7 separate regions of the Homo sapiens genome follow, and regions 2, 3, 4, 5, 6 and 7 are each linked to region 1. The links are contacts of gene promoters, found by promoter capture Hi-C in blood cells and fetal thymus (Javierre and others, 2016). All regions are on one chromosome and are shown on one strand. Each heading gives the region's core, a stretch centred on a gene start or on the middle of the fragment in contact. The rest is flanking DNA. Distances are from core to core; before and after follow the strand shown.

Region 1 (4,086 bases), core at 490-2,989:
GGATTATGGCCATGAGCCACCACACCCAGCCCCATTTGATTTTTTTTTTTTTTTTTGGTATGGAGTCTTGCTCTTTCGCCCAGGATGGAGTGCAGTGGTGCGACCTTGGCTCACTGCAACCTCCACTTCCCAGGCAAGCAATTCTCCTACCTCAACCTCCTAAATAGCTGGGACTACAGGTGCGTGCCACCACACCCAGCTAATTTCTGTATTTTTTTTTACTAGAGATGGGGTTTCACCATGTTGGCCAGGCTGGTCTCCAACTCCTGACCTCAAGTAATCTGCCCACCTCAGCCTCCCAAAGTGCTGGGATTAAAGGCGTGAGCCCCATGAGCCTGGCCACCATTTGATTTAATAAGCTTCTTTTAAACATCTACTGTGTACCAAACACTGCGGTGGAACTAGGATACAGGATGTTAAAAACAAGGCACTATCTTTCTCAATAATCAAGCTTGGGAGAAACTACACTGATGAAAAGTTTTACTAATGTGAAAGTGATGTCCGGTACAAAGCAGTAAGAAATAATAGTTTGACTTAATGCCACAGCCATAGCATTAGGGGTTTTAGAGAATATATCTTTACAACCCCCTTCATTTTACAAATGAGGAAACAGGACCACAGCACCAGAATGAAGGCCAAAACCCAGCATTCCCAACCCATTAATCCATTCTTGTAATGTTATGCTACACTTTACAATGCAAAGAATATTTTGACTAGCCAATAAACGGTGGGGTGTGGGAGAACTACAGACATTAGGAATATCTGATACGGGACATCATACTGAAAGGAAGCCTAGAGAGTAACTATTCCGTCCAGATCCCTCATTTTACAGAAGACTGCGCTCATGACCTACCCTGTATCACAGCTTGAGATAGGAGGCCCCTCGCCTTGAAAGACGATCCCTAAAGTAGACAGTAGCACCATCTCTTGGCCCCATCTTCCTGTCCTTTAGTTAACCTCTTCTTACAGCATCTTAGCACTGTAGTCCAATTTTCTGTTTGTGTGTCTGCCTCCCCTGCACACCAGGCTGACTTAGTCCTGTGTAGAGACTCTATGGTACCTAGCCACAGGGCCTAGCAGTCAATAGGAGCAAAGAAAATCATTTATCACCATTCTGCAACTTCCAAAAAAAAAAAAAGAGAGAGAGACAAAGCCCAAAGACTGCGGAGAATCGCACGATGGGGTGCGGGGCAAGCATAAATTGTCCAGGAGAAAACAGGACTAAAGCGCCAGAAATACACCCTAAAAATGTCCCTCCACATCGGTCCCGGTGACACAACAGTAAGCACTCAGTGCTTGCTGAATGAATGACACACACACCCGTCATTTATTCAGCAAGCACTTACAGAGCGCCAACTCCGTGCCCGGCACTGCTCTCGACAGACACAAATAAGGCACAGCCCTGTCGTCGCGGCCTGACGAGAAAGGCGGCCACCGACAAAGGCGAGTCCACGTGGCGTGGGACGTGCGCCGACCGGTCTGCACTTGTCCACAGGCGCTCCCTGCCCCTCCTCCCATCCGATCCTCCTCGCCGCCTCTTAGAGCTGAACTCATCTCTTCACTAACTCCTCACCTAACCCACTCCCGCGACTACACTCCTTTCTTTTTCCTCTCAGGATCCCGAACACCTCTTACCCTTCCAGCTGCTTAGGTTTGAACTCCGGCTGCAGCCGCCAGCACCCGAAACGCGCCCGGGACCCACGTGGTTCGCAGCACTTGCACGCACGGAACGCTTCTGCGCAGATCCGCTGCCGGAGAGCCCATTTTGCAGAACACCGCTCGCCCACGCTTCCTCTTGGGAGTAGGCAGTCATTCTAGGGAACAACTTTCTGCAGTTTAACTTCCGGCGCTAGCTTTTTCAGACCTTTCCGGTTAGCTGCTTGCTTTCTTCTCTCCACCCCCGGGTTCTCTGACTCACTTCCTTCGTTCGCGAGCAAATTGGCTTCCCGAGAGGTGGCGCTCACACGTTGCGTGAAGTCCAAAGAGTGCCTGACCTAGAAGTAGACTTTTCGCTCCCGCTTTGTGTTTATTCACCTTTTCTAGCCTGTCAAGCAAAAAATTTTGAGTACCTACTACGTGGACGCATTATTCTAGGCCCTAGGGATAAAACAGTATGCTCTCTTGGAGCTTCTGGGAGGGATGGGAGTATAGGAAAACAAGAAGCAAATAAGCAAATTAATATGTAATAGATCGCATTTTGTAAGTGCTGTGAAGAAAAGGCCAGAGAAATCTCTGAGTAAGTGATAATAGAATAGACCTGCATGAAGTGAGGGAGCCAGCCCAGTGATTCTTCGAGAGCCAAGTATTACGGTGGACATCGAGTGGTGGAAAATGCCGTTAGAATAGAGCCAAATCTTATGTTGTGAGATGCTAATACAGATTTTGCACAAGGCATGACATCATCACTAACAAAAAAACATTCCCACTGCTCTAAGGGGAAATGAACGGGGGAAAGGTACAAAAATGGAATCAGGAGCCGTTTCAACAAATGATGCTGGAGCAATTGGACGAATATAGACCCAAAGAACCTCAACCTAAACCTCTCACCTTATACAAAATTTACTCAAAATGAATCATAGATTTAAATGTAAAACAATAAATCACTTATGGGGAAAAAAAAAGTTAAAAAAAATCCTCAGGACCTAGGGCCAGGCAAATAGTTTTTAGACGACACCAAAAGACCAATCTATACAGGGAAAAAGTTGATAAATTGGAACTTACTGAAATTTAAAACTTTTGGCCGAGCGCGGTGGCTCACGCCTGTAATCCCAGCACGCTGGAAAGCAGCGGCGGGAGGATCACTTGAGCTCAGGAATTCGAGACCAGCCCGGGCAACATAGTGAAACCCCGTCTCTACTAAACATACAAAAATGAGCCGGGCGTGGTTGCAGGCGCCTGTAGTCCCAGCTACTCGGGAGGCTGAGGCAGGAGAATCGCTTGAACCCGGGAGGCAGAGGTTGCAGTGAGCCGAGATTGCGCCAGGGCACTCCAGCCTGGGTGACAGAGCGAGACTCGGTCTCAAAAAAATAAAAAATAAATAAAATAAATAAGTAAAATTTCATTATTCTCCTGTTTTCTTTTTTTTCTTTTTGAGACCGAGTATCGCTTTGGCGCCCAGGCCGGAGCGCAGTTGCACGATGTCGGTTCATTGCAAACTCCGCCATCCGGGTTCAAGCGATTCTCGTGACTCAGCTTCCCGCGTAGCTGGGACTACAGGCGTCTGCCACCACGCCCGGTATTTTCTTTTTCTTTTTTTTTTTTTTTTTTTGAGACGGAGCCTTGCCAGGTCGCCCAGGGTGGAGTGCAGTGGTGCGATCTCGGCTCACTGCAACCTCCGCCTCCCGGGTTCAAGCGAATCTCCTGCCCCAGCCTCCCGAGCAGCTGGGATTACAGGTGCCCACCACCACACCCGGCTACTTTTTGTATTTTTAGGAGAGACGGGGTTTCACCATGTTGGCCAGGTTGGTCTCAAACTCTTGACCTCGTGATCCGCCCGCCTCAGCCTCCCAAAGTGCTGAGATTACAGGCATGAGCCACCGCGCCTGGCCCTAATTTTTGTATTTTTAGTAGAGACGGGTTTTCACTATGCTGGCCAGGCTGGTATCGAACTCCTGACCTCAAGTGTTCCATCTGCCTCGGCCTACCAAAGTGCAGGGATTACAGGCATGAGCCACCGTGCTCGGCCTTTATTTATTTATTTGTTTATTTATTTATTGAGATGCAGTCTTGCTCTGTCACCCAGGCTGGAGTGCCTTGGCGGATCTCAGCTCACTGCAACCTCTGCCTCCCACGTTCAAGTGATTCTCCTGCCTCAGCCTCCCGAGTAGCTGGGACTACAGGCGTGCACCACCACGCCCGGCTAATTTTTGTATTTTTAGTAGAGACGGGGTTTCACCATGTTGGCCAGGCTGGTCTCAAACTCCTGACCTCAGGTGATCCGCCCACCTTGGCCTCACAGAGTGCTGGGATTATAGGCGTGAGCCACTGTGCCCTGCAGAAAAGAAATTTAAAACCTTTGTCCTGTGAAAGACCTTTTGAAGAGGACGAAAAAACAAGCTAGAGTGGAAGGAAATATTTCCAAACCAC
Region 2 (4,086 bases), core at 1,129-3,628, 450 kb after region 1:
GATGAAGCATAAATAGCTAACATTTATTGAACTTGCTTTGCAGCACAGATAGGATAGGGTTCTTTTTTTTTTTTTTTTTTTTGAGACAGAGTCTCGCACTCTCGCCCAGGCTGGAGTGCAGTGGTGCCAGGTGCCATCTTGGCTCACTTCAAGCTCTGCCTCCTGGGTTCACGCCATTCTCCTGCCTCAGCCTCCCGAGTAGCTGGGACTACAGGTGCCCGCCACCACGCCCGGCTAATTTTTTGTATTTTTAGTAGAGATGGGGTTTCACCGTGTTAGCCAGGATGGTCTCGATCTCCTGACCTTGTGATCCGCCTGACTCTGCCTCCCAAAGTTCTGGGATTACAGGCGTGAGCCACCGTGCCCGGCCAGCTCAGATAGGGTTCTAAGTGTTTTACATGTGTTAGCTTGTTCACAACTACCTGGGGACATAGTTACTGTTCTCTCCATTTACAGATGAAGAAACTGAGGCCCAGAAACCGTAAGTTGTTTCCTCACTTTTCACAGTGCCCCTTCCCAAGGTCATAGGATTGACAGTAACTAGTGGAGCCAGAAAACAAACCTGGTATCTGATGCCAGACCTACCCTCCTAAACACAATGTCTGCCCCATAGGAGGTGTTTAGTGAAGTGATTCTGAGGTAGCCTGAAGAGGCTTCTTATAGGTTTTTTTTTTTTTTTTTTTTTTTGAGATGGAGTTTCACTCTTGTCACCCAGGCTGGAGTGCAATGCGTGATCTCAGCTCACTGCATCCTCCACCTCCTGGGTTCAAGCGATTCTCCTGCCTCATCCTCCCAAGTAACTAGGATTACAGGTGTGTGCCACCACGCCTGGCTAGTTTTTTGTATTTTTAGTAGAAATGGGGTTTCACCATGTTAGCCAAGCTGGTCTCGAACTCCTGACCTCAGGTGATCTGCCCGCCTCGGCCTCCCAAAGTGCTGGGATTATAGGCGTGAGCCACCGCGCCCGGCCTCTTGTAGATTTAATTGGAGGAACTGTCTAATAGGCCCCTCAAACTCAACATGTCCAAGATTGAATTCCAAGTCTCCCCTCATCCCTCTACCACCTCAAGCCTGCTCCTCTGAGTCCTCAGCCTCTCAGGAGTGCTCAGGCCAGAACCCTTGGCACCCTGCTTGCCTCCTGCTTGCCTCCTGTCTTTCATAGCCGACATCCAGTCAGCCAATTCTATGAGCTCCACCTTCAGATACAGTCAGAATCTGACTACTTCTCACTAACCCTACCACTACACCTCTGATACAAAGCCACCATTGTTTCTCTTGCTTGGATTATTACAATAGCCTCCTACTAGTGTCCTTGCTCCTAAGCTTATATCATACAGTCTTCTTAATTAACACAGTGGTCAGAGGGATCCTGACTTAAAACATAAGTCAGATCATTTCACTCTGCTCAAAAATGGCTCCTATCTCACTCAGTAAAAGCCTACAGGGTCCTACAATTTCTACTTCCTGTCCCCACATCTTCCCTCCTTACCTCTGTGCTAATCTCATGGGATTTGCCCTTCTGCTTACCTTTTTCCCCTGGCCTCCTTGCTTTCTCTGGAATACCAGACAGTCCTGATTCAAGATCTTTGCGTTTTGTCTTCCCACTCTCTTAAATGCTTTCCCTCCAGATATCACATGGTTTGCTTCCTCACCACCTTCAGATTTTAGTTTAGATGTCACCTTCTTGGCAAGGCTTTTCCTGGGCCCTCAATTTAAAGTTGCACAATGCCCCTTTCCAACCTCTGTCATTCCCTAATGCCTTTCCCTGCTTTACTATTGCTGTCATACTTCATCACCACCTAGCGTACTGCGTGCTTTGCTTATTTATTTGCTGATGTCTGTTTCCTCTTCTGTAAAATGGGGGGAATGTTGACAGTAGTATTACCTCATGGGTTTAGAGGATTAAATAAGTTAATACATGTAATGCCTTTAGAACAATGTCCAACACGTAAAGCATTATACCTGTATTAGCCATTGTTGTTGTTTTCTTATTATGAAGCAATATGCTAGATAATGGAATATAAGGTTACCCTCAAAAAAACGTACTCTCTTGCATTTGCAAAGCAGAATGGTGACTGCTTTCAAGTCTTAGTTGCTCAGTAATCACAATTTCAGCACCAATGAGTGATGCCCTGTTGATGAATGACACCCAGTGCCTCAGGTCTGAAATAGTTTCTGACACTAATAAGATATTTTGACTGCAAATGTAAAGCTTAAGGAGTTGAAGTTCAAAGATAGAGTAATCTATCAATTAGATTGATCACTAATCATTCCCCCACATCAGTTGTAATTCAAGTGTCATGCATAACCCTTGGTTCATGAAGAACTTGAAAATATTACCTGGCTGCAGGGGCTCTGAGTTATGGCTGCCCAGAGCCGCACAGCTCTGGACGGTAAATGATGATCACTAAGGCACAGGGCTGTGGGGGCCACGCTATGTTGACTTAACCCTGCTTTACATGGGTGGTAGTTTAGCAAGTTGGTTTGTCCCAGAGTCTCTCAGACCCACTGGTAGTAAATTACCTCCTTTACTCTCAAGCTTGCCACGAACAAGTGATCTACTACTAGCAAGTGAGCATTTTATTTCCAAAAGGGAGCATATTTTTCTCATCATGCTTCATTCATTTTTGAGGGCTCACTTATCATTATAATTGTTCACTTTTTAAGCCTGTGCCACAGACATCCACACACAAACACACTCAAGGTTCCAGTTTGCCCAGAATCAAGGGTAGATTGGATCCTTCTACTTCAAGCAAGGTCCACTTTATCCTTAGTTTACTCATTTGGTACTTTTTTTTTTTTTGAGATGGAGTCTTGCTGTGTTGCCCAGGCTGAAGTGCAGTGGCACAATCTTGGCTCGCTGCAACCTCCACCTCCTGGGTTCAAGCAATTCTCCTGCCTCAGCCTCCCCAGTAGCTGGGATTACAGACATGCACCATCACACTAATTTTTGTATTTTTAGTAGAGATGGGGTTTCACCCTATTGGGCAGGCTGGTCTCAAACTCCCGACCTAAAGTGATCCACCTGCCTTGGCCTCCCTAAGTGCTGGGATTACAGGTGTGAGCCACCGTGCCTGGCCCATTCAGTAAATATTAATTAATACATGCCAAGCAAACACTTCCTTGCCTTCAGGGAGCTTGATCAAGACTCTTCTCTCCCAAACTTAACGAGACTCTTATTTTTCCCAAATTAGCAATAATTTTGTCATTGCATCATGGAATACACCTTAAAGGAACCTGGATAATCTAATTCTAATGAACCATAATGTAGAATGTCACTCTGAGACATCAATGGAATTGCTCCCAGCCAGCCAGACATGCTAACTTTCTGTAAGTTACTAATGTTAAGCCCAGGGCAAATCAGCTTTTTCCTGGAATCATATAAACTTTCCAAATAATTATACTTCCCAGGTTAGTGAACTAACCTTCAATATTGAACATTTGTTCTAATCTTCATTTCTGTATTTGGCTATAAGAGCTCTGAAGATATGTATCTCAGTTCAGTTAGAGAGTTGGTGAAAGAAGACCTTTCAAAACACAGGCGAAAAGTATTTTCCTTCCATAATATACAGTCAGCTCTGGCACCTAGGGATGGATTTAGTTGCTCTGAATCTTTCATTTCTGTTAAGATGGAGTTTTTGCTGGCATGCTAATTATGTTTCTGTACAGTATTAAAATAGTAGCCCTTCAGAGTGTGCAGAATTGCTTCCTCTGTGTACAATATTGAGTGATTAGTTTTACTTAAATGAGTCTGATATGTTAGAAGAACCTGTTCGTGAAGAATTTTGGTTGTTGATGTATATTTTTTAAGTACCTCAGGAATTAAAGTATGTGTGCAGTGCCTTACATTTACGCAGATGAGGATATGTTTGTAGCCTTCTGGAGAGAACTAGAGAAGCCAACTTTTTAAAAATGGAAATTTGGAAATCCTTTGTGTGTGTGTTAAGGAAAGAAAAGTAAGAAGGAAAAAGAAAGTGAGCAACTGGGATTCAGGCAAGAATATCTGCTGTCATAATAATAATTTAAGTGACAGAGCAAGCTGCTGATAGGAGATGGTTATTATCCTGATAATATTGAATCTTCAGG
Region 3 (4,086 bases), core at 565-3,064, 430 kb after region 1:
TGAGGGCCTCATCATTGAAGAGTCATAAACCCATCACATACAATGCAATGTGGCAACAAATTACCCCGGGAAAGAAAACAGTTTCTCTAAAACGTGTTCAAAGTCAAGGGTGCAGAGATACAAGGCTGTTCCAACTGATAAGGAGTGCAATGGAAAGCATTTTTCTCTTGAATTCAAAATATACAAATAACCTATTGAACATAAGCCAAATCGCCATAATGTTTTGGTTTTTTACCTTACTTAGGATTTTGAGCGTTATTCCTAACACATTTGCAAAGTTTAGACTGAAAGGTTACAGAGTCAGGTAGTTAAAAAAAAAAAAAGTTACTTCGCTATAACAAAGATGCCTACAAAAGAAAGATGGTCAAGGTAAGCAGTTCCTTAGTCTCCTATTGTGACAAATGGTCGGGGGGATGGGGAGCCTAAATGTTAAAAACAAAAAACCCACCTCTTAAAAACAATAAATTCTACTCTAAGAATGTTTCATACTACTTTGGAATCAGTTAGCACCCCAACACAACTTGAGCCAAACTTACTCTTTCTTAAAGTCCTAAAAGGAGTCATCTAGCACCAACTTGCTTTCCTACACTGCAAAAAAGAAATTTTACCTTAACCAAAGCCTACGTTTAAAAAGAGTAAGAAAACAGTTTTCTAAAGAAGCATGCATTACCTGAACTATTCCTTCCTATTTTGATTAGCAATTGTTTTAAAATTAGCATGTTAGATTATAACCTCAAAGTAAAATTAAATTCTGTATCTATTCTCCAGATAAGACCTAAAGTAAACATTACACTGCATGTTCAAAACTAGATCAAAACACTTGAAATGCTACAGTAGGTGCAGAGAACCAGTTTCATAGGATTGTGGAAAGCTAACAGAACTACAAAGATTAGTTTCCTCAGTTGCCAAGACTTTGGGTGAGCCTTTTTAAGTCTCACCAGTGAAACTGGGGTTATAATATTTACCTTTACTCCCCGGGCTAAGAGCATCAAATGAGTTTTATGTGGAAGAAAAAACCTTGACAGCTGCCTCTATAAGGGACTTCTTAGAATACTGTTAACGAACAATACTTGTAAATCATCACGGTAAACCCTAACAAGTAAACGACTTCTTTTACATTTCTATTTCCCCGTATAAGCGTCATGCTGTAATTACTTAAATAAAATACCGCCACGATTTTTACCATGAATCCTGGTCAGAAATTTTAGTCTAAATACGACGTTCAACCCAAACTATAGAAAAATGTGCCCTTCTCCCTATTTCATAATGAGGTGAAACCTCGGAGCCGCTAGATTTAATAAGACGCTGCTATCCTTCTTTCCCGCGTTTCCCCGCCTCATCAAGGTGCTTTTCAATTATGCCAAGGGCTCTCCCGGACCCCCTTGATACTAGAACAACAAAACCAAATCACCCCCATCCCCGGGTCCGGACAGCATCCTCCCTCCTGGCTCCATGGGCACCGGGTCAGACGCTCGACCCCGGGTGCGGCCCTGGCCACATCGCGCCGCGGCCAGGAGGGCCACAGCCCGCGCCCGCTCCCCTCCCCCACGGAGCCCGGGCTCAGGCCAAGGCCCGCGGGACTTACGCTCTCGTGGTCCCACCGCACGTTGCTGCGCTTCTCGTCCGGGGCTAGGTTTCGGTCCCGGCCCATTAACTCATCCAACAACTGCGCGGCCGAAATCATGGTGCTTCCTTCGGGCGGCTGTTCCCACCAGCCCAGGCACCCGCCAACGAAAACACGGGCGACACCGTCGCCAATCTCCTCGGCCCGCTCTCAGGCCGAAATCCCTCCTACACACAGGAGCCGACAAGACAAAATGGCCGCCGCGCGGACGCCTTCCCAGCATGCCGTGCGCCCGTGGGACACGCCCAGGCCCGGGCGGAGAGGGCGAGCTCGGCTTCCGCCGTCCGGGGGCGGGGCCCGCGGAGGCCGGGTAGGGACTCCGCCCCTGTCTAGAGGCCGCGGGGACGGGTAGCCTCTGCCCGCGCGCCTCCCCAAGCGCCCGGTTTTCCCGAGCTTCTTCACGGTGAGAAATTGGAGCCTAGGTCTTGAAGCCTGGACACCGCTTCAAAATGGAGAAAGTGTCTCCTTTAGTCCACGTGGTGCACATGGTGCCTCATGCAGCGGAGGAAACTGAAGATTACGGCTTCCGACTCCATTTTCCTAGTCGCTGTGCTCACGCCTCTTGCACCTGGCTTTGTCCTCCCGCCCTGAGTCTCCTGATTAACAGGATGGGAAATCGAGGCAAGAAGAGACAAGGCGGCTTCTAAAATACGGGGATTCAGTCCTACACCAAATGTCTCCCAGTGTGGAATTTTTTAAAAAGATATTGATCCAGTAGGCCAGGTGAGGTGGCTCACGCCTGTAATCACAGCACTTTGGGAGGCCGAAGCGGGCGGATCACCTGAGGTCGGGAGTTCGAGATCAGCCTGACCAACATGGAGAAACCCCGTCTCCACTAAAAATACAAAATTAGGTTGGCGTGGTGGCGCATGCCTGTAATCCCAACTACTCAGGGGGCTGAGGCTGGAGAATCGCTTGAACCCGGGAGGCGGAGGTCGCGGTGAGCCGAGATCGCGCCATTGCACTCCAGTCTGGACAACAAGAGCAAAACTCCATCTCAAAAAAAAAAAAAAAAAAAAAAAAAATATATATATATATATATATATATATACACACACACACACACACACACATACACACACACACACACACATATATATAGATAGGTAGATCCATTTATTCAACAAATGGTATGTGCCAGGCACTGTGCTTAAAGCTAAACTCAGAACCTTTCAGACAGTCCATGCTCCCGCAGACCTGTGCATTGGCGAGGGGAGATAATCGCTGAAGAAATAAAGTCACAAATATATCAACGTATGTTGGGATAATGCTTTAGCACAGTTAAGGGTATGGTCTCTAAAGCCAGATTGCCTGGGTTCGTAATCCCAGCTCTGCCGCTCTGTGCCTTTGTTTCCTTTTCTGTAAAATGGGGTTTACAATAGTCCTCCCCCGGCCCCCAGCCACGATGCTATTGTGAAGATTAAATGAGTTTATACAATGTAAGGCACTACACATTGATAACAAGCCCAACACTTTTATTTTTGGGGGGACTGGGTCTGGCCCTGTCACCCAGGCTGGAGTGCAATGGCACGATCTCAGCTCACTGCAGCTTCAACCTCCCGGGCTCAGGCGACCCCCTCGCCTCAACCTCCCCAGTAGCTGGGACTACAGGCGCATGCCACCACGCCCGGCTAAGTTTTTGTATTTTTGGTAGAGACGGGGTTTCGCCAAGTTGCCCAGGCTGGTCTTGAACTCCTGAGCTCAAATAATCCACCCACCTCAGCCTCCCAAAGTGTTGGGATTACAGGCGTGAACCACCGCGCCCGGTCGTGGACACCTCTTTTTAAGAAGGAAAGCAGCAAAATAGGGTGAGAACTCAAAGGAGGTATGGGACATGAAGCCTTTTTTTTTTTTTTTTTTTTTTTTTGAGCTATCGCTCAGGCTGGAGTGCAGTGGTACCATCTTGGCTCACTGCAACCTCTGCCTCCCGGGTTCAAGTTTATCCTGCCGCAGCCTCCTGAGTAGCTGGGATTACAAGCACCCGCCACCACGCCCAGCTAATTTTTGTACTTTTAGTAGAGACGGAGTTTCGCCATGTTGGCCAGGCTGATCTCAAACTCCTGACCTCAGGTGATCCACCTGCCTCGACCTCCCAAAGTTCCCAAAGTGCTGGGATTACAGGCGTGAGCCACCAAGTGGGGCTGGAGCCTTTTTGAAGATAGGAAATTAGAGGCTAGACATGGTGGCTCACGCCATAATCCCACTACTTTAGGGAGGCAGAGGCAGGGAGATAGCTTGAGGCCAGGAGTTTAAGACCTGCCTGGGCAACATAACAAGACGCCATTCTCCACAAAAAGGAAAAAAAAAGAAAAGACCAAAAAAAAAAAAACCCCAAACGTAGGAAATGAGAGAATGTTTAATGTTGGGGATATTCCAGTAGAGAGGTGGAAAATAAAAGAAGGGGATAGTTAATGACTTAAAATCTTAAAAAGGTAACGGGTTGGGTCCTGGCGTGGTGACTC
Region 4 (4,086 bases), core at 1,150-3,649, 390 kb after region 1:
TCCTTTTGCACTCGGCTTTGCAAATTATGTAGTTGGCCCTGGTCACATCCATATCTGGCCATTTACCAACCTGAACAAACTACTTCCCCTTTCAGCCTCAATTTTCCTGTCTGAAAATGAAAATAATAATGTGCATACCCCACAGGATTCTTTTGGGGACAGTGAGGCTTTTCTCTTTTCCAGAATGCAAGTCTGATTATGACAGCTCTCTGCTAAAAACCAGAATGGCTTGGTGGTGTTTTAGGACAAAGACCAAAACCTTTCATCTAGACTAATGCTGCCCAATAGAAATGTAATGCAAGCCACATATGTAATTTAAAATTGCTAGTAGCCATGTTTTAAAAAGTAAAAACAGGTGAAACTAATTTTAATAATATACTTTGCCCGCTATATGCAAATCATTATGTCAACATATAAGTATGAAAATTTTTTATTGCCTCCAAAATCCAGGGTATATTTTACCTTATCGTGTATCTTATCTCATGTGACAAGAAGCTACATAATTGGACTAACTGGCCCCTGCCAGCCTGTCTGACACTCAGTCCCCCCATGCTCTCTGCCCTGCAGCCATGCTGAACTCTCCACAGGGCCCTGTGAAAAGCTCTTCACCTCCTCTGCCCTCTGGATCTAGTGAAGCCTATTCATCCTTCAGATGTCAGCTCAAATAATCAACCTTCATGGAGGCCTCCCTTGACCCCTAACATGCTTTCAAAGTACTGTGTATTTCACATTCATCATGCCCCGACAACTGTGATTTCCCATTTATTAATATCTGTCTCTTCTGCTGGCCTGCAAACTCCAGGAGCACAGAGACATCTTTGGGATTTTTGAACATGATTTCCCCAGGGCTTAGCCCAGTGCCTGGTGCAAAGCAGGCTTTCAACATGTTCAGTGGATATTGTAAGAAAGAAAGAAATACACAAAAGGCCTGGCATATGCAAAGCACTCTAAATATTCACTCCTTTCCCTTCCCTCTGGGTGAGAAAATTTCTCCTTATAAAGACACCCTCCTAACTGTATCTCTGCTAGAGAACTGAAGACATAAAGCACTCTGTGCCAAAAATATTTAAGTAAAAACTTGAGCTAAGCACAGAGATTATAAATATTTCTTCCCCAGATTACGCACCATTTAAAAATACTGTCTCAGCTCCTTTTCATGATTTGGGTGGTGATTAAAGAAAATTACTCTTCAAGACTGAAAGTCATTACTGCCCTTTTCCTGACTTGCCTTTTCCCTTGAGAAGGGGAGGATAAGCTGCAGGGCAGGAAGTGGAAGTGGGGCATCCTTGTCCTTTGTCTGGCAGACAGCCAACTGGTCAGGTACTGCTCCTTCTCAACTCTTTCCTGATTCCCAGGTGAATATAAACAAGAAGGCACAAATCCACACTTGCCAACAACGGACCCAAGTGATAACAAGAAACCCAGTGACACCTGTCTAGGTGAAGACTCAGCCCCTATGTGACCAGGTTGCAAAGCCAAACTGACCATCTGCTTTCCATTTGGACTTTTAGTTCATACTGTATCTTCTCAGGACAGTTAAGTTGGAATACAATGCCACTGTCCTGAAAGATGGTAGAATTATCCTATTTCTGGAGGAGTGGGGGTGGTGGGTAGGAATCTCAAGAGCGATTTGCTCCTCTGCACAATAGCTTCTTTAAGGACACCAGGGCCCCCAGGGCTATACATTTCCCTGAAGCTTTCCAGATAAGCAACAAGGTATGAGCACCTGCTATGTATTGCCCAAGGGTGATGTGTTTAAATATCCATTGCATATTTTAAATCCTTGGCTGGCTTAAAGCTGCAAGCTTTCTGTCTTCAGTGGATATAATGGGGGCATACATCCCAGAGCTTGCCCAACACTCCAAGAAAAGAACCCTCAGCTAATGCAAAGTGTGTATGTGCCCATGAAAGCTCCATGTCTACTTAACATTCAGTTTTTAGGATTATTTATGCTGTAATAATAGATATGAAAATCTCTGACAGGTATTTTGTTTCCTTTACAAACTGTATTTGAATTTATGGGTGATTTAGAGCTTGTGTTTAAAGTCAGAATTCAGAACCCCAAAGAAAATGACTTCATTGAAATTGAACTGAAGAGACAAGAACTGAGTTACCAAAACCTACTAAACGTGAGTTGCTGTGAACTGGGGATTAAACCAGAACGAGTGGAGAAGATCAGAAAGCTACCAAACACACTGCTCAGAAAGGTAAGGGTTAAGAGTTTCTAAATGCAGAATCACAGTGGGTGACATCATGTTCTCTGGAGCCAATCGTTTACACTTCTGCATTTCATGACACCAGAAATCCTGGCTGCAAAACGGCCAAACATGGTAGCTAGGTCATTTTCAATCTGGCGCTTTTAAGATTTGCACATCTAATCCATAAACCTTTTAAAAACCTCTAAATGGTCCGATCACGGTGGCTCACACCAGTACAATCCCAGCACTTTGGGAGGCCGAGGTGGGCAGATCACAAGGTCAAGAGATCGAGACTATCCTGGCCAACACGGTGAAAACCCGTCTCTACTAAAAATACAAAAATTAGCTGGGCATGGCAGCGCGTGCCTGTAATCCCAGCTACTCAGGAGGCTGAGGCAGGAGAATTGCTTGAACCCAGGAGGAGGAGGTTGCAGTGAGCTGAGATAGCACCACTGCACTCCAGCCTGGCGACAGAGCTAGACCCTGTCTCAAAAAAAAACAAACCTCTGAATGACAAGTGACTCCCCAATTTAAGGCTTTAGTTCAGTGCTTTTGGCCCCACCAATCTCTGCAAAATTGACTGGTTAACATAAAATGGCATAGTCCTCAGGAAAAAAAAAAACACAAACCCATCCTTGTTTGCTTAGCAAAGGGTGGGTTTGCTAAGTATTTGAAATATTAGCAAACAAAAATTGTTTTGCATTTTTATATATTTCCCAGATTTAAAATACAGATCTTAATTTTTAATTTTGGAAAGGAAATCTTATTTCTTTGGAAATTTTTCTTTAAAGCTTTCAAAATTCCTTTGGCAATTTTTTTGTTTTTTGTTTTTTTGAGACAGGGTCTCTGTCACCCACAATAGAATGCAATGGCGTGATCATAGCTCACTGCAGCCTCGAAATCCTCAGCTCAAGTGATCCTCCCATCTTAGCCTCCAGAGTAGTTGGGACTACAGGGACACACCACCACACTCCATTAATTTCTTTTTTTTGAAATGGGTCTGGCTATATTGCCCAGGCTGTTCTCAACCCCCTGGCCTCATCCTCCTAAGTGCTGGGATAACAGGTGGTGAGCTGCTGTTCCTTTGGCAATCCTTACTGGTGTCTTGGCTTATAGTGTATATTCTTTGTAAACTAACATGTCAAGGGATGATCATGCTTTCCAGATACCTTAACAACAAAAATCTGCTGGGTGTGGTGTCTCATGCTTGTAATCCCAGCACTTTGGGAGGCCGAGGTGGGCGGATTGCTTGAGCTCAGGAATTTGAGACCAGCCTGGGCAACATGGTGAAACCCTGTCTCTACAGGAAAATACAAAAATTAGCTGGGTGTAGTAGACTTGGGAGGCTGCAGTGGAAGTGGAAGGATTGCTTGAGCCTAGGAGGTTGAAGCTGCAGTGAGCTGTGACTGTGCCACTGCACTCCAGGTTAGGTGACAGAGCGAGACCCTGTCTCAAAAAAAAAAATACAGAACTATCTTATGGGGACCGGGCGCAGTGGCTCACACCTGTAATCCCAGCATTTTGGGAGGCCCAGGTGGGCAGATCACCTGAAGTCAGGAGTTCAAGACCAGCCTGGCCAACATGGTGAAAACTGTCTCTATAAAAAATACAAAAATTAGCCGGGCATGATGGCGCATGTCTGAATCCCAGCTACTCAGGAGGCTGAGGTTGCAGTGAGCCAAGTGAGGCAGGAGAATCACTTGAACCTGGGAGGCGGAGGTTGCAGTGAGCCAAGATCGCATCATTGCCCTCCAGCCTGGGCGACAAAAGCAAGACTCTGTCTCAAAAAAAACAATACCTTATGGGTTCAGAACCCAAGATGCTGAACAATATTAATATTAAGGTTTTCTATTACATTCAAATTTATTAAGCATAATATAATTTCTTT
Region 5 (4,086 bases), core at 1,587-4,086, 370 kb after region 1:
GGAGAATCACTTGATCCCAGGAGGCAGAGGTTGCAGTGAGCAGAGATCGCACCACTGCATTCCAGCCTGGGTGACAGAGCAAGACTCCGTCGCAGAAAAAAAAGAATTGACTGAGGAAACCCTGAATTCTGTAATAAAAATGTTTCCACATCGTGCAACATGGGAAATGGAGGTGGAAATCCAAGTCAATTATAGAAAATAGAAACATTCACACTTCTGACTTTGTAACCCATGAAGCTTGTGCCCCTACAAGGAGATCTCACCCCCATGTAACCTGGGTGCCAACCCATTACCTAAGAAAACAGACAGGCCTGGAGAGCTTTAGGGAGAGTTGTGGAGGGACGGACTTTGAACTCTTGTAAAGTGACTTGCTTTTATTAGGCACCTACTGTATACCAGGCACATTGCTGAACACTATATATTATTTATTTTTCTTTTTTCTTTTCTTTTCTTTTTCTTTTTCTTTTTGGACAGTCTCACTCTGTTGCCCAGGCTGGAGTGCAGTGGTGCCATCTCAGCTCACTGCAACCTCCATCTCCCAGGTTCAGGTGATTCTCGTGCCTCAGGCTCCCGAACTATATATTATTTCTTTCTGTTTTTGTTTGTTTTGTTTTGTTTTTGAGACAGGGTCTCACTTGGTTGCCCAGGTTGGAGTGCAGTGGTGCGGTCTCAGCTCACTGCAAGCTCAGCCTCTGGAGTAACTGGGATCATAGGTATGTGTCACAACGCCTGGCTAATTTTTGTATTTTCACTAGAGACGGTGTTTCGCCATGTTGCCCAGGCTGGTCTCAAACTGCTGGCCTCAAGTGATCCGCCCGCCTTGGTCTCCCAAATTGCTGGGATTACAGGCATGAGCCACCATGCCCAGCCTACATATTCTTTCTAAGTGAGGTGGAAATTATTATTTTCTTTTTGCAGACAAGAAAACTACAACACAGTTGCTGAATGAGGGAGCCAGGGTGCATTGGGCTGATTTCCCACAGGACAGTTTATGGACTCCTTGGATAACCAGGAATACTGCTCTGCGGCTTTACACCCAAAGGTGGTGCTGGGAGAGATGGGAGACCAGGGAGGGACTGAATTAAAAATGCAGGTTCTTGGAGGAAGCTCAGGCAGGAGTGGGGCGGCCCCTGGTGGACACACGGAGAATGGCAACTCGGTGGTGCGGACCTGCCCTGCCCAGTGGCCTTGCATGGGAATGGCAGGGAAGGAAAGGGGCAGGCTCAAGAGGAGGTATTGAGAGGGGCTCCCATGTTGGAGCTCAGTCCTGGGACAGCAAAGGCTACTCCTGGGGCGCGGGGGCGGTATGGGAAGGGGCATTTCATGAGGACAGGCAAGAGGAAGGAAGCTGACCTTCACTGAGCGTTGACTATGCTCACAAGATACAGGTGGGAAATGATATCGACTTTTAAAACGGGCCCGCTGGGCGCGGTGGCTCATGTCTGTAATCCCAGCACTTTGGGAGGCCGAGGTGGGCAGATCACTTGAGGTCAGGAGTTCGAGACCAGCCTGGCCAGCATGGTGAAACCCCATCTCTACTAAAAATGCAAACAAATTAGTGGGGCATCATGGCACATGCCTGTAATCCCAGCTACCTGGGAGGCTGAGGCAGGAGAATCGCTTGAACCCGGAAGGCAGAGGTTGCAGTGAGCCAAGTTCCCACCACTGCGCTCCAGCCTGGGCGACAGACCAAGACTCCATCGCAAAAAAAAAAAAAAAAAAAAAAAAAAAAAAAAAAAGGGCAAAGATATCCAGGCACATGCGAACCAAAAGAAAACCAAGGTCATGACATGAAGCTCAAAAAATTATATGAAACACGACGGATCTCTTTGTACTGCTAAAAGGGAAAGACCCCAGAAAATAAAACGTGCACCAAGTAACATAATGTAAAACACATAGGCCGGGCGCGGTGGCTCACGCCTGTAATCCCAGCACTTTGGGAGGCCAAGGCGGGCGTCACGAGGTCAGGAGATCAAGACCATCCTGGCTAACACGGTGAAACCCGGTCTCTACTAAAAATACAAAAAATTAGCCGGGAGTGGTGGCAGGTGCCTGTAGTCCCAGCTACCTGGGAGGCTGAGGCAGGAGAATGGCGTGAACCCGGGAGGCGGAGCTTGCAGTGAGCCGAGATGGAGCCACTGCACTCCAGCCTGGGCAACAGAGCGAGACTCTGTCTCAAAAAAAAAAAAAAAAAAAAAAAAAAAAGTGCACATCAAGAAAGTGAAGAGACAATCCACAGAATGGGAGAAAATATTCATAAATCATATACCTGATCAGGGACTTGTAACCAGAATATGTAAAAAGGCTCTTACAACTCAATAAGAAGACAACCCAATTTTAAAATAGGCAAAGGCCAGGCTCGGTGGCTCATGCCTGTAATCCCAGCACTTTGGGAGGTCAAGGCAGGCAGAACACTTGACGTCAGGAGTCCTAGACAGCCTGGCCAACATGGTGAAACCCCATCTCTACTAAAAATACAAAAATTAGCCTGACACAGTGGCACGAGCCTGTAATCCCAGCTATTCGAGAGGCTGAAGCGGGAGGATCACTTCAGCCCGGAAGGCGGAGGTTGCAGTGAGCCAAGATCACATCACTGCGCTTCAGCCTGGGCGACAGAGTGAGACTCCGTCTCAAATAAAATAAAATAAAATAAAATAAAATAAAATAAAATAAAATAAAATAAAATAGGCAAATGATTTGAATAGATGTTTCTCTAAAGAAGACATGCAAATGGCCAATAAACACAAGAAGAGATGTTCAACATCACTAGTCATTAGGGAAATGCAAATCAAAACCAAAATAAGATACCACTTCACACTCACTGGTATAGCTACAGTTTAAAAGACAAATAAAAAATAGACCTTCTCAATCCCCCTGTCTCTGTGAACTTCCGCTGGGAAAAGCGATGCACTGGCGAAAGCCGTGTGAGGGGGGCCTTTGGCTCCAGAGAGACGGCGCGAGAGCCCCAGTGGGAACCACCCGGAGACCCAGAAGATCGAATTCGCCACTGCGCTGCGCGGCCGCCACACTCGCCGGGATCGGCCGGGTTTGAAGACGCGCCATGGAAGCCAGAGGGGTCTGACGATGGGGACCTCTCGGAGCGTCGTCGCCCTGCTACTGCGCCTTGGCGGCCGCGCTCCATCTGGAGGCTTCCTCGTGACGCATACGCAGCCTGGCCGCCAAGAAGACCGTCGCCTGCCTGGGACAGCCACCCTGGACACCCAGAAGCCAGGAGATTTCCAGTGAGGCCCTTCGCTTCCTTATCTTTTGCCCAAGAACTGGGTTTCCGTAATGCGTCCGCTCTGTTCCCATGCCACCCAAGAGGCTGTGGCTGAGCAGCGCTTCTGACACATTGCTCTCTTTAGTCTGTTCTCGCAATAAAATCCAACGCCAGTGCAAAATAATAATAATAATAATAAACATAGGGCCAGGCACGGTGGCTTACGCCTGTAATCCCAGCACTTTGGGAGGCTGAGGCGGGCGGATCACGAGGTTAAGAGTTCCAGACCAGCCTGGCCAACATAGTGAAACCCGGTCTCTACTAAAAATACAAAAAATTAGCCGGGCATGGTGGCACGCCCCTGTAATCCCAGCTACTCGGGAGGCTGAGGCAGGAGAATCGCTTTGAACCCAGGAGGCAGAGCTTGCAGAGAGCAAAGATTGCACCATTGCACTCCAGCCTGGGCAACAGAGCAAGACTCCGTCTCAAATAATAATAATAATAATTAATAAAGGCCAGGCATGGTGGATCACACCTGTAATCCCAGCACTTTGGGAGGCTGAGGCAGGTGGATCACTTGAGATCAGGAGTCCAAGACCAGCCTGGCCAACATGGCGAAACTCTGTCTCTACTAAAAATACAAAAAAAATTAGCCAGGCATGGTGGCACACGCCTGTAATCCTAGCTACTTGGAAGCCTGAGGCACAAGAATCACTTGAACCCGGGAGGCAGAGATTGCGGTGAACCGAGATTGTGCCACTGCACTCCAGCCGGGGTGACAGTGAGACTGTCTCAAAAAAAACAAACAAACACATAGTGAACCCCCATCTCTACTAAAAATACAAAAAAAAATTACCGGGCATGGT
Region 6 (4,086 bases), core at 529-3,028, 360 kb after region 1:
AAGGTAAATTACCCCACAGGGTGTTATGGGTAGGACCATGTTCCTATCACAAGATATGCTCAAGACCTAACCCCTAGTATCTCAGAATGTGACGTATTTGAAAATAGGATTGTTGCAGATGAAATTAGCAAAGGTGAGGTCATACTGGAGTGTAGGGTGGGTTCTTAATCCAATAGGACTAGTGTCCTTATGAAAGAAGAGAAGAGACAGAGAGACAGACATATGCTCCTGCTCTGTGTGAAAGAAAGAAGACGCGGAGACTTCGGGGAGGCAGCCGCAAGTCTGGGCCTGCCAGGAGGACTGGCAACCACCGGAAGCCAGAAAAGAGGCAAGAAGTCTTCCCCCTCCAGGCTTGGAGGGAGCAGGCCCGTCCACACCTGAATTCCAGACTCCTGGCCTCCAGAACCGTGAAGCAATACCCTTCTGTTGTTTGCAGCTGCCTAGTGTGTGGTACTTAGTTAAGGCAGCTCTAGAAGCAAATACACAGGGCCTCAGACGGGGAGGCCTCAGATTAGAGGGAAATGCCTCTGACTCCCTATGGTGATTGAGACACTGTCATATTCGTTCCTGTCCCCAGCCTTGCTTGTGAGGCCAAGAAAAGCAAAGGCTGAGTAATGACAATGCTAGGCAGAGGGAAGTCTAGCTAACGTCAGGCCTCCTGCTCTCTCCTGATCCAGGGGTAGAAGGAAACAGACCGTGGGCTGCTGGATGAGGCGTCTCCCCACTCCTGGGTCCACCACTCCGCTCCGGCCACTCAGGGCTGCCTGACAGCTCGGGCTTCCGCCTGAGCTCACCCCTGTCTCTGCCACGTCCTGAGCAAGGCCCTGCCTCTCTCCCAGCCTTGGGTTCTCCCTAGCCCTGAGGCTCCCATGGCCATGCCACCTGCTGAGCCCAGACATCCCCTCCTCCCTGAACCCTCCCCTGACCCCTTCCCTAGACGCCTTCTGTGTTGGGGATGCCTTGGGACGGCTGAAGAGGCCCCGTGCTGAACCGCTAAGGGAACAGGACAGTCAGACACACCTGCCTTCAAATTCAGGCGTCACACTTGTAGCTGTGTGACTCCAAGCAAGTTCTACATGGCATCTATTTCCTCCTTTGTAAGGTAGTGATCCCAGCAGGGTTGTGGGAGGCAGCTAGTCAAGGTTGTAAGAGACTCTGCAAGGCCGAGGCTCTTTCCCTGGGTCCCACGGGCCAGCCTCAGGAGGTCCATGAGAGCCCCGAGGCTGGAGTGAAATAGCGCGTACGGCTGCCTACATTGCTCTCAAGCCTTAGCTCTTGCCTTGTTCTCAGAGGGGTTCATGACTTCAAGAAGTTAAGACCCCCACGTAAATCTCCCAGCCCAGAGCCCCTGAACACCGCTCCACTTTGGACTGAGCATCTCTCCTGGGTCCTGCCACCTTGCATCTTGCCCTGAGCTGCATCTGCCGTGTGGTGTGGTGGCCTGTCCCCACAAGGAAAGGGGCCCTCACAAGGCCAGCCTCAGACCCTGTGCCTGACCCAGGGCTCCTTTGCAAAACAAGTTCTTTTTTTTTTTTTTAATACTTTAAGTTCTAGGGTACATGTGCACAACGTGCAGGTTTGTTACATATGTATACATGTGCCATGCTGGTGTGCTGCACCCATTAACTCGTCATTTACATTAGGTATATCTCCTAATGCTATCCCTCCCCCCTCCCCCCACCCCACAACAGGCTCCGGTGTGTGATGTTCCCCTTCCTGTGTCCAAGTGTTCTCATTGTTCAATTCCCACCTATGAGTGAGAACATGCGGTGTTTGTTTTTTTGTCCTTGAGATAGCAAAACAAGTTCTTAATACTGCTCCTTCCCGAGGGGCCCTGAGGCCCAGCTTGCCAAGCGCCCACAACGCACCTCCAGCCAAGGTTTCAACAGATCTCACGAACAACCCCAGTCCAATGGAACACACCATGGAAACCGTGTTGTTTACGTTTCACAGATTTGCCGGGGATAAAGGCTACTTAATGAAGGAGGGCCTGAAAGTACTCATGGGAAAGGAGTTCCTTGGATTTTTGGAGAATCAAAAAGACCCTCTGGCTGCAGACATAACAATGAAGGACATGGACCAGTGCCAAGACAGCACACTGAACTTCCAGAACTTGTTTTCACTCACTGCGGGGCTCACCACTGTGGACAACAACTATTTTGTAGTACCTATGAAGCAGAAGGGAACGAAGCAGGCAGAACTAAGCAATTACTCAGCCCTGTGAGAGTTCTCCCAAAGAGTCGCTATAGGAACCTGCCCACAGCTTCCCCCTGTAGAAGGCTTTCATGAGCAGACCAGGGCCAAGAAAACAGACACATCAAATCCAAATCTCATCTAACAAGCAAAGAAAGGAAGTTAATTAAATAATAGGCTTTTGGTCTTTGGATTGTTTGCATCCTCTTGGCCTCAATTGACACATCCTTTTTAGTTTGGGAAAAATATAGATATACTTTTTAAATTATTTTTTAAGCCTTTGCCTCTGTACATATATATTTTTATATTATATATATATAGTGTTTGGCTGAGCTCAGTGGCTCATGCATGTAACCCTAGCACCTGGGGAGGCTGAGGTGGGTGGACCTTGGGCCCAGGGGTTTGAGACCAGCCTGGTCAACATAGTGAGACTTCATCTCTACAAAACAAAACAAAACAAAAAAAACCAGCCAGGTGTGGTGGCGTGCATGCCAGTAGTATCAGCTACTCAGGAGGCTGAGGTGGGAGAATTGCCTGAACCCAGGAAGCTGAGGCTGCAGCGAGCTATGATCACCCCCACTGCACTCCAGCCTGGGTGACAGAGTGAGACCCTGTCTCAAAAAAAAGTACATATATTTATGTATGTATGTATACATACGTATCTAGAGTTTCTTCTCACTGTGGTTTGAATGTGTACTCCCAAAAACATGTGTTGGAAACTTAATCCCCAATGCAACAGTGTTGAGGTAGGGCCTAATGAGACGTGATTATGCCAGGAAGTTCTGCCCTCAAGAAAGAGCTAATGCTGTTATCTCAGTGGGAGTGAGTTCCTTATAACAGGATGAAGTTGGCCCCTTTCTCTCTCTGTCTCTACCTCTCTTGCCCTTCCACTGTCAGATGATGTGGCAAGAAGGCCCTCACCAGATGCCGGCCCCTCAATATTAGACTTCCCAGCTTCCAGAACTATAAGAAATAAATCCCTGTTCCTCATAATTATCCAGTCTCAGGTACTCTGTTATTGCAGCATAAGACAGACTAAGACACTTCTCTCTCCGTCAACCACATTCCTTTTTTTTTTTTTTTTTTTTTGAGACGGAGTCTTGCTCTGTCGCCCAGGCTGGGGTGCAATGGCACGGTCTCGGCTCACTGCAACCTCCGCCTCCCAGGTTCAAGCGATTCTCCTGCCTCAGCCTCCGGAGTAGCTGGGATTACAGGCACCTGCTACCATGCCTGGCTAATTTTTGTATTTTTAGTAGAGACGGGGTTTCACCATGTTGGCCAGGCTGGTCTTGAACTGCTGACCTTGTGATCCACCCGCCTCAGCCTCCTGAAGTGCTGGGATTACAGGCGTGAGCCACTGCGCCCGGCCTATTCTTTTTTTTTTGAGACGGAGTGTCGCTCTGTCACCCAGGCTGGAATGCAGTGGTGTGATCTCAGCTCATTGCAACCTCCGCCTCCCAGGTTCAAGCAATTCTCCTGCCTCAGCCTCCTGAGTAGCTGGAATTACAGGCACACACCATGACACCTGGCTAGTTTTTGTATTTTCAGTAGAGATGGGGTTTCACCATGTTGGCCAGGCTGGTCTCAAACTCCTGACCTCAAGTGATCCACCTGCCTTGGCCTCCTAAAGTGCTGAGATTACAGACGTGAGCCATCATGCCTGGCCACCACATTCCTTTTCTTCCAGAAGGCCACTCTGCCCTCATCCTCCTCTTGCTTCCTTCTCAGTCTCCTTTGTGCCACCTCCGTGTCAGCCGCTCTTTAATGAGGTGTCCCCAGGGTCCTGCCTCAGTTCTCTTCCTGCCTCTCCCTGCTCTGGTTGCTCTGCTCCCATGGCTTCAACTCTAGTTAAGGTGACACCAGCTGCTATTACAGGCAAACACCAAGGTTTCA
Region 7 (4,086 bases), core at 955-3,454, 340 kb after region 1:
GGAACCCGACTTGTCTCAGCGCCCCCTGCTGGGGGGAGCCCCGCGTGGGCTCAACCCGTGTTGCTGACCGCGGCACCGTGGGGCACGGAGCCCTCACCCTCCCCTGACCGAGGAGGGGACCTCCTGTCTCCGCGGGGAGGTTTGAAGAAGCTGCCTGAGGCATAAAGAATGTGGGGCTGTAGGGCAGAAAGCTCGGACGCTGGATAATCTCACCCGTAATGACCCCGTGGCTGTCAGCCCTACAGCACTCACCTCAAGCCTTCACCACGGTGTGGGAAACCACAGATGGGGTTGACAGATGATTCAGGGGCTGCAGCACCCCCAGCCACACCCCAAGGAGCTGGCATCGTTGTGCTCCTGGTTGAATTTTTCCAGCCCCCGGCATATACCTGCCCTGCCATGGAGCCTCCACTCCCTTCCACTTCCTTCAAGAACAAATATAGAAATGTGGTCCATCCACACAATGGAATATTACTCAGCCTTATAAAAGAAGGAAGTTCTGATACACACTACAACGTGATGAGCCTTGAAGACATTATGCCACGTGAAAGAAGCCAGACACAGAAGCCCACATATTGATTCCATTTATGTGAAATGTCCAGAACAGGCAAATAGGTAGAGACAGAAAGCAGGTTAATCGTTGCCAGGCTGAGGGAAGCAGGGAATTGGGTAGGGAGGCCTGCTGATAGGTCACAAGTTTCCTTTTGGGATGGTGAAGATATTCTAGAACTAAATCATGGTGATGGCCACACAATGTTGTGAATGGACTAAATGCCACTGAACTGTACAACTTAAAATTACCACTTCAGGTAAATTTTACATTACATGCATTTGACTGCAATTAAAAGAACAGATATGATTGCTCAGGCTTAGATGGTCCCCTGGCTCTAAGAGGACGCCCAGGGCTTGGGCACCAATGGCCACCCAAAGGCAACTGTATAGAAGTTTAGCCCAGGGGCAGTCAGTTCCCCAAACCAGGTCAGCGGCCATAGCCCTCAGAAACAGGAAGTACCACTGTCCCTCCCAGCCATTGACCATCAACAAACCACGTTGAACACCCATTCCGTGCTGCTCCAGAGACAAGGAAGAAGCGGGGAGGAACAGGTGTGGAAAGGGGAGGAGTGAAGATTCTATTTGGACAAAGCTAAATTCAAGATGTGAATTTTTGACTGAGCACAGTGGCTCATGCCTATAATCCCAGCAGTTTGGGAGGCTGAGGAGGGCAGATCACCAGAGGTCAGAAGTTGAAGACCAGCCTGGCCAACATGGCCTATCTCTACTAAATATACAAAATTAGCCAGGTGTGGTGATGAGCACCTGTAATCCCAGCTACTCGGAGGCTGAGGCAGAAGAATTGCTTGAAGCCAGGAGGCAGAGTTTGCAGTGAGCTGAGATTGCACCATTGCACTCTAGCCTGGGCAACAAGAGTGAAACTCCATCTCAAAAAAAAAAAAAGATACTAATTTTTTATTTATTTATTTTTGAGATAGGCTGCTCACTGCAGCCTCAGGTGAGACTCCGTCTCTACAAAAATATTTAAATATTAGCCAGGCCTGGTGGTGTGCACCTGCTACTTGGGAGGCTAAGGTGGGAGAATCACTTGAACCCAAGAGGTTGAGCTGTGACCACGCCACTGCACTCCAGCCTGGGTGACAGAGCAAGACCCTGCCTCAAAACAAAAGAAAGATATTTACAGCCATGGCCTTGGCACTGTCACCAGGTGGGTGAAGAAAAGGACCTGTCCCAAGGCCCAGGATACTGCTACATTTAGAGGTCTAGAGAAGGAGGAAACAAGCAAAGAAGAGGAAATCCAGCAGCCGGTGAATAGGAGGAAAGCCAGGAGATGGTGGAATCACAGAAGGCAAGGAGACAAAGCACTTAGAGAAGGAGGAAGTGGCCATGCTTTGGTTAACGCTGCTAGGAAGTGGATAGAGGAGGGCAGAGTTGTGGACCCCGGGTTGGCAGAGGGGATCCAGGTGCAGTGCCAAAAGCTTATACAGTATTGGGAGATGGGCAGGCTCTCCTTATGAAAAATAATATAAACTTACAAGTAAAAGTGTGCGTTCAAGTTTTTAGAATATGAAAAAAATCACAAATTACACATTTTTAAAAACTGATAACACCCACCTCAGCAAATCTAGAAAATTAACATAATATTCTTATAATTAAGTGCCTGACTATAATCCTTTCCTTCCTACATTTTGACTACCTACTCTTTGATTGCCTTTTCATATTATAATGATTTTGTAATATGAATTTTTATAGAAAAAAAGAAAAATAATCAATTCTATTTTTCTTTTTATTATGAGAATTTAATACTTTTTTTCACCTTTGCAATTCATATTACTAATGCCGTGAAAATGTTTAGGGTTGTTTAGGATTTGTTGTCAAACTTGGGGCAACCTGTACCAAGCTTCTTTCAACAATGAGCCAATAGGGAGAAACAACTCAAGCGTCCATCAACGGATGAATGAATAAACAAATGTGGTATATCCAGACAATGGAATATTATTTAGCCTTAAAAAGGAATGAAGTTCTGATATATACTACAACAGGGATGAAACCTTTTTAATTTTCTTTTCTTTTTTGTAGAGATGTGGTCTTGCAATGTTGCCCAGACTGGTCTTGAACTCCCGGCCTCAAGTGATCCTCCCTCTCAGCCTCTCAAAGTGCAGGCATGAGTCACTACATCCAGCCAACATAGGTGAACCTTGAAAATATTATGCTAAGTGAAAGAAGTCAGACACAAAGGACAAAGACTGCAAGATTCCACTTATCTGAAGTATCTAGTGTAGGCAAGCTCACTGCAGCCTCGACTCACTAGGACTCAGGTAATCCTCCCACCTCAGCCTCCCAAATAGCTGGGACTACAGGCACGTACCACCACACCCAGCTAATTTTTCTATTTTTTTGTAGAGATGGGGTTTTGCCAGGTCGTCCATGCTGGTTTCAAACTCTGGGGCCCAAGCGAGTCACCCGCCTTGGCCTCCCAAGGTGCTGGGATTACAGGCATGAACCACTGCACTCAGCAGCAAATTCCTTATTGCAGGAAAATCTATGAATCCTCCTTTCTTCCTCCTCCCTATCCAAGAGGCCACCAGATCCTACTGGTGGTGCCTCTAAAATATCTGTTGCCTGTCTTCTCTCTGTCTTGCTTGTTACGAATTAGTTTATTATGCCATTGCCCTGTCTGGGATTGGCTCCCCTACTCATCCCTCTGCCCTCTGGCTCCAGCATCTCTGTCACCAGGAGTCATAGTCTTCCCCTGAGGACCAACCCCAGGGCCTCTTAGCTTCATCTTCCTTCTCCTCCTCCTCCCAGGGATCTGCTCCAAGATGATGGATGTGACCAGGCCTCTCTGTGGGAGCTGCCACCTCCTCCTGGCCATGTTGCCTTGTCTCTCTCCTCATGGTCACAACATGGCTGCAGCAGTTATTCTATCTATCTATCTATCTATCTATCTATCTATCTATCTATCTATTCTAATCTATCATCTATCTATCCATCATCTATCTAATCTATCTATCATCTGTCTCTTATCTATCATCTATCTATCTAATCTGTCATCTATACTTCATCTATCTAATCTATCATCTATCTATTATCTATCTATCTAATCTATCATCTGTCTATCCATCATCTATCTATCTAATCTATCACCTATCATCTATTATCTACCTATTATCTGTCATCTATCTATCTAATCTATCATCTATCTAATCTATGTATTTATCTAATCTATATATCTATGCATCTATCTATGTATCTATGTATCTATCATCTACCTACCTATCTATCTATCATCTATCCATCCACTCATTCACCCATCTATAATGAATTTTACTCACATGAAGATAATAAATACTCAAGACTCATCCCTTCCTAATTCTTCTACTACCTGGCTGGAACTAGAAAAGGAATGAGAGTGAGCATACCGTCAGCAGAAGGGATGCCTACACTAACAGCCGTTAGTTAGCATCATTCAAAAGTCCTCTTGATCTGGTTCCTGCCTACTTCTCCAGCTCCGTGTCACACCCCTCGCCCTGTTGGACACAGTTCCACGCCATACTGGGCATCCTTCAGTTC

Evidence for each region. The method cuts DNA at HindIII sites, captures the fragments that hold promoters and counts their contacts. A CHiCAGO score of 5 or more calls a contact.
Region 2: a contact is called between a fragment that was not itself captured here and the fragment with the promoter of NME1 in region 1, in 2 of 17 cell types (non-activated CD4 T cells and naive CD4 T cells). The highest score is 6.9, in non-activated CD4 T cells.
Region 3: the fragment with the promoter of LUC7L3 here is called in contact with the fragment with the promoter of NME1 in region 1 in 3 of 17 cell types (monocytes, fetal thymus and naive CD8 T cells); the score reaches 7.4 in monocytes.
Region 4: a contact is called between a fragment that was not itself captured here and the fragment with the promoter of NME1 in region 1, in 3 of 17 cell types (monocytes, total B cells and fetal thymus). The highest score is 9.8, in monocytes.
Region 5: a contact is called between a fragment that was not itself captured here and the fragment with the promoter of NME1 in region 1, in 7 of 17 cell types (neutrophils, naive CD8 T cells, total B cells and 4 more). The highest score is 11.6, in neutrophils.
Region 6: a contact is called between a fragment that was not itself captured here and the fragment with the promoter of NME1 in region 1, in 1 of 17 cell types (neutrophils). The highest score is 5.1, in neutrophils.
Region 7: a fragment that was not itself captured here is called in contact with the fragment with the promoter of NME1 in region 1 in 1 of 17 cell types (total CD8 T cells); the score reaches 5.0 in total CD8 T cells.

The regions. Positions count from the first base shown.
Region 1 is chr17:51,151,212-51,155,297 of GRCh38, reverse strand. It overlaps NME1 (NME/NM23 nucleoside diphosphate kinase 1), which reads right to left and starts at 1,739. Exons shown (of 5, transcript NM_000269.3): 1 at 1,636-1,739. NME1-NME2 (NME1-NME2 readthrough) reads right to left here and starts at 1,739. Exons shown (of 9, transcript NR_037149.2): 1 at 1,636-1,739; 2 at 854-1,073. RefSeq lists enhancers at 1-72, 1,469-1,888, 1,672-2,203, 1,227-2,426. The HindIII fragment of the contact is 18,411 bases long and covers 454-4,086 here.
Region 2 is chr17:50,701,117-50,705,202 of GRCh38, reverse strand. All of the region lies in intron 1 of ANKRD40 (ankyrin repeat domain 40), which reads left to right. Among named protein-coding and RNA genes, the nearest start is that of ANKRD40, 4.8 kb to the left of the region's middle. The HindIII fragment of the contact is 327 bases long and covers 2,215-2,541 here.
Region 3 is chr17:50,717,331-50,721,416 of GRCh38, reverse strand. It overlaps LUC7L3 (LUC7 like 3 pre-mRNA splicing factor), which reads right to left and starts at 1,814. Exons shown (of 10, transcript NM_016424.5): 1 at 1,586-1,814. The coding sequence starts at 1,684. RefSeq lists silencers at 1,478-1,537, 1,878-2,107 and an enhancer at 1,708-1,847. The HindIII fragment of the contact is 10,215 bases long and covers 1-4,086 here.
Region 4 is chr17:50,761,518-50,765,603 of GRCh38, reverse strand. ANKRD40CL (ANKRD40 C-terminal like) reads left to right here. Exons shown (of 4, transcript NM_001358683.3): 3 at 2,047-2,207. Among named protein-coding and RNA genes, the nearest start is that of ANKRD40CL, 4.0 kb to the left of the region's middle. The HindIII fragment of the contact is 1,184 bases long and covers 1,808-2,991 here.
Region 5 is chr17:50,780,383-50,784,468 of GRCh38, reverse strand. No RefSeq gene overlaps it. Among named protein-coding and RNA genes, the nearest start is that of MIR8059, 14 kb to the right of the region's middle. The HindIII fragment of the contact is 5,194 bases long and covers 240-4,086 here.
Region 6 is chr17:50,795,467-50,799,552 of GRCh38, reverse strand. No RefSeq gene overlaps it. Among named protein-coding and RNA genes, the nearest start is that of MIR8059, 29 kb to the right of the region's middle. RefSeq lists enhancers at 1-417, 418-968. The HindIII fragment of the contact is 8,240 bases long and covers 1-4,086 here.
Region 7 is chr17:50,813,374-50,817,459 of GRCh38, reverse strand. No RefSeq gene overlaps it. Among named protein-coding and RNA genes, the nearest start is that of WFIKKN2, 20 kb to the left of the region's middle. The HindIII fragment of the contact is 422 bases long and covers 1,994-2,415 here.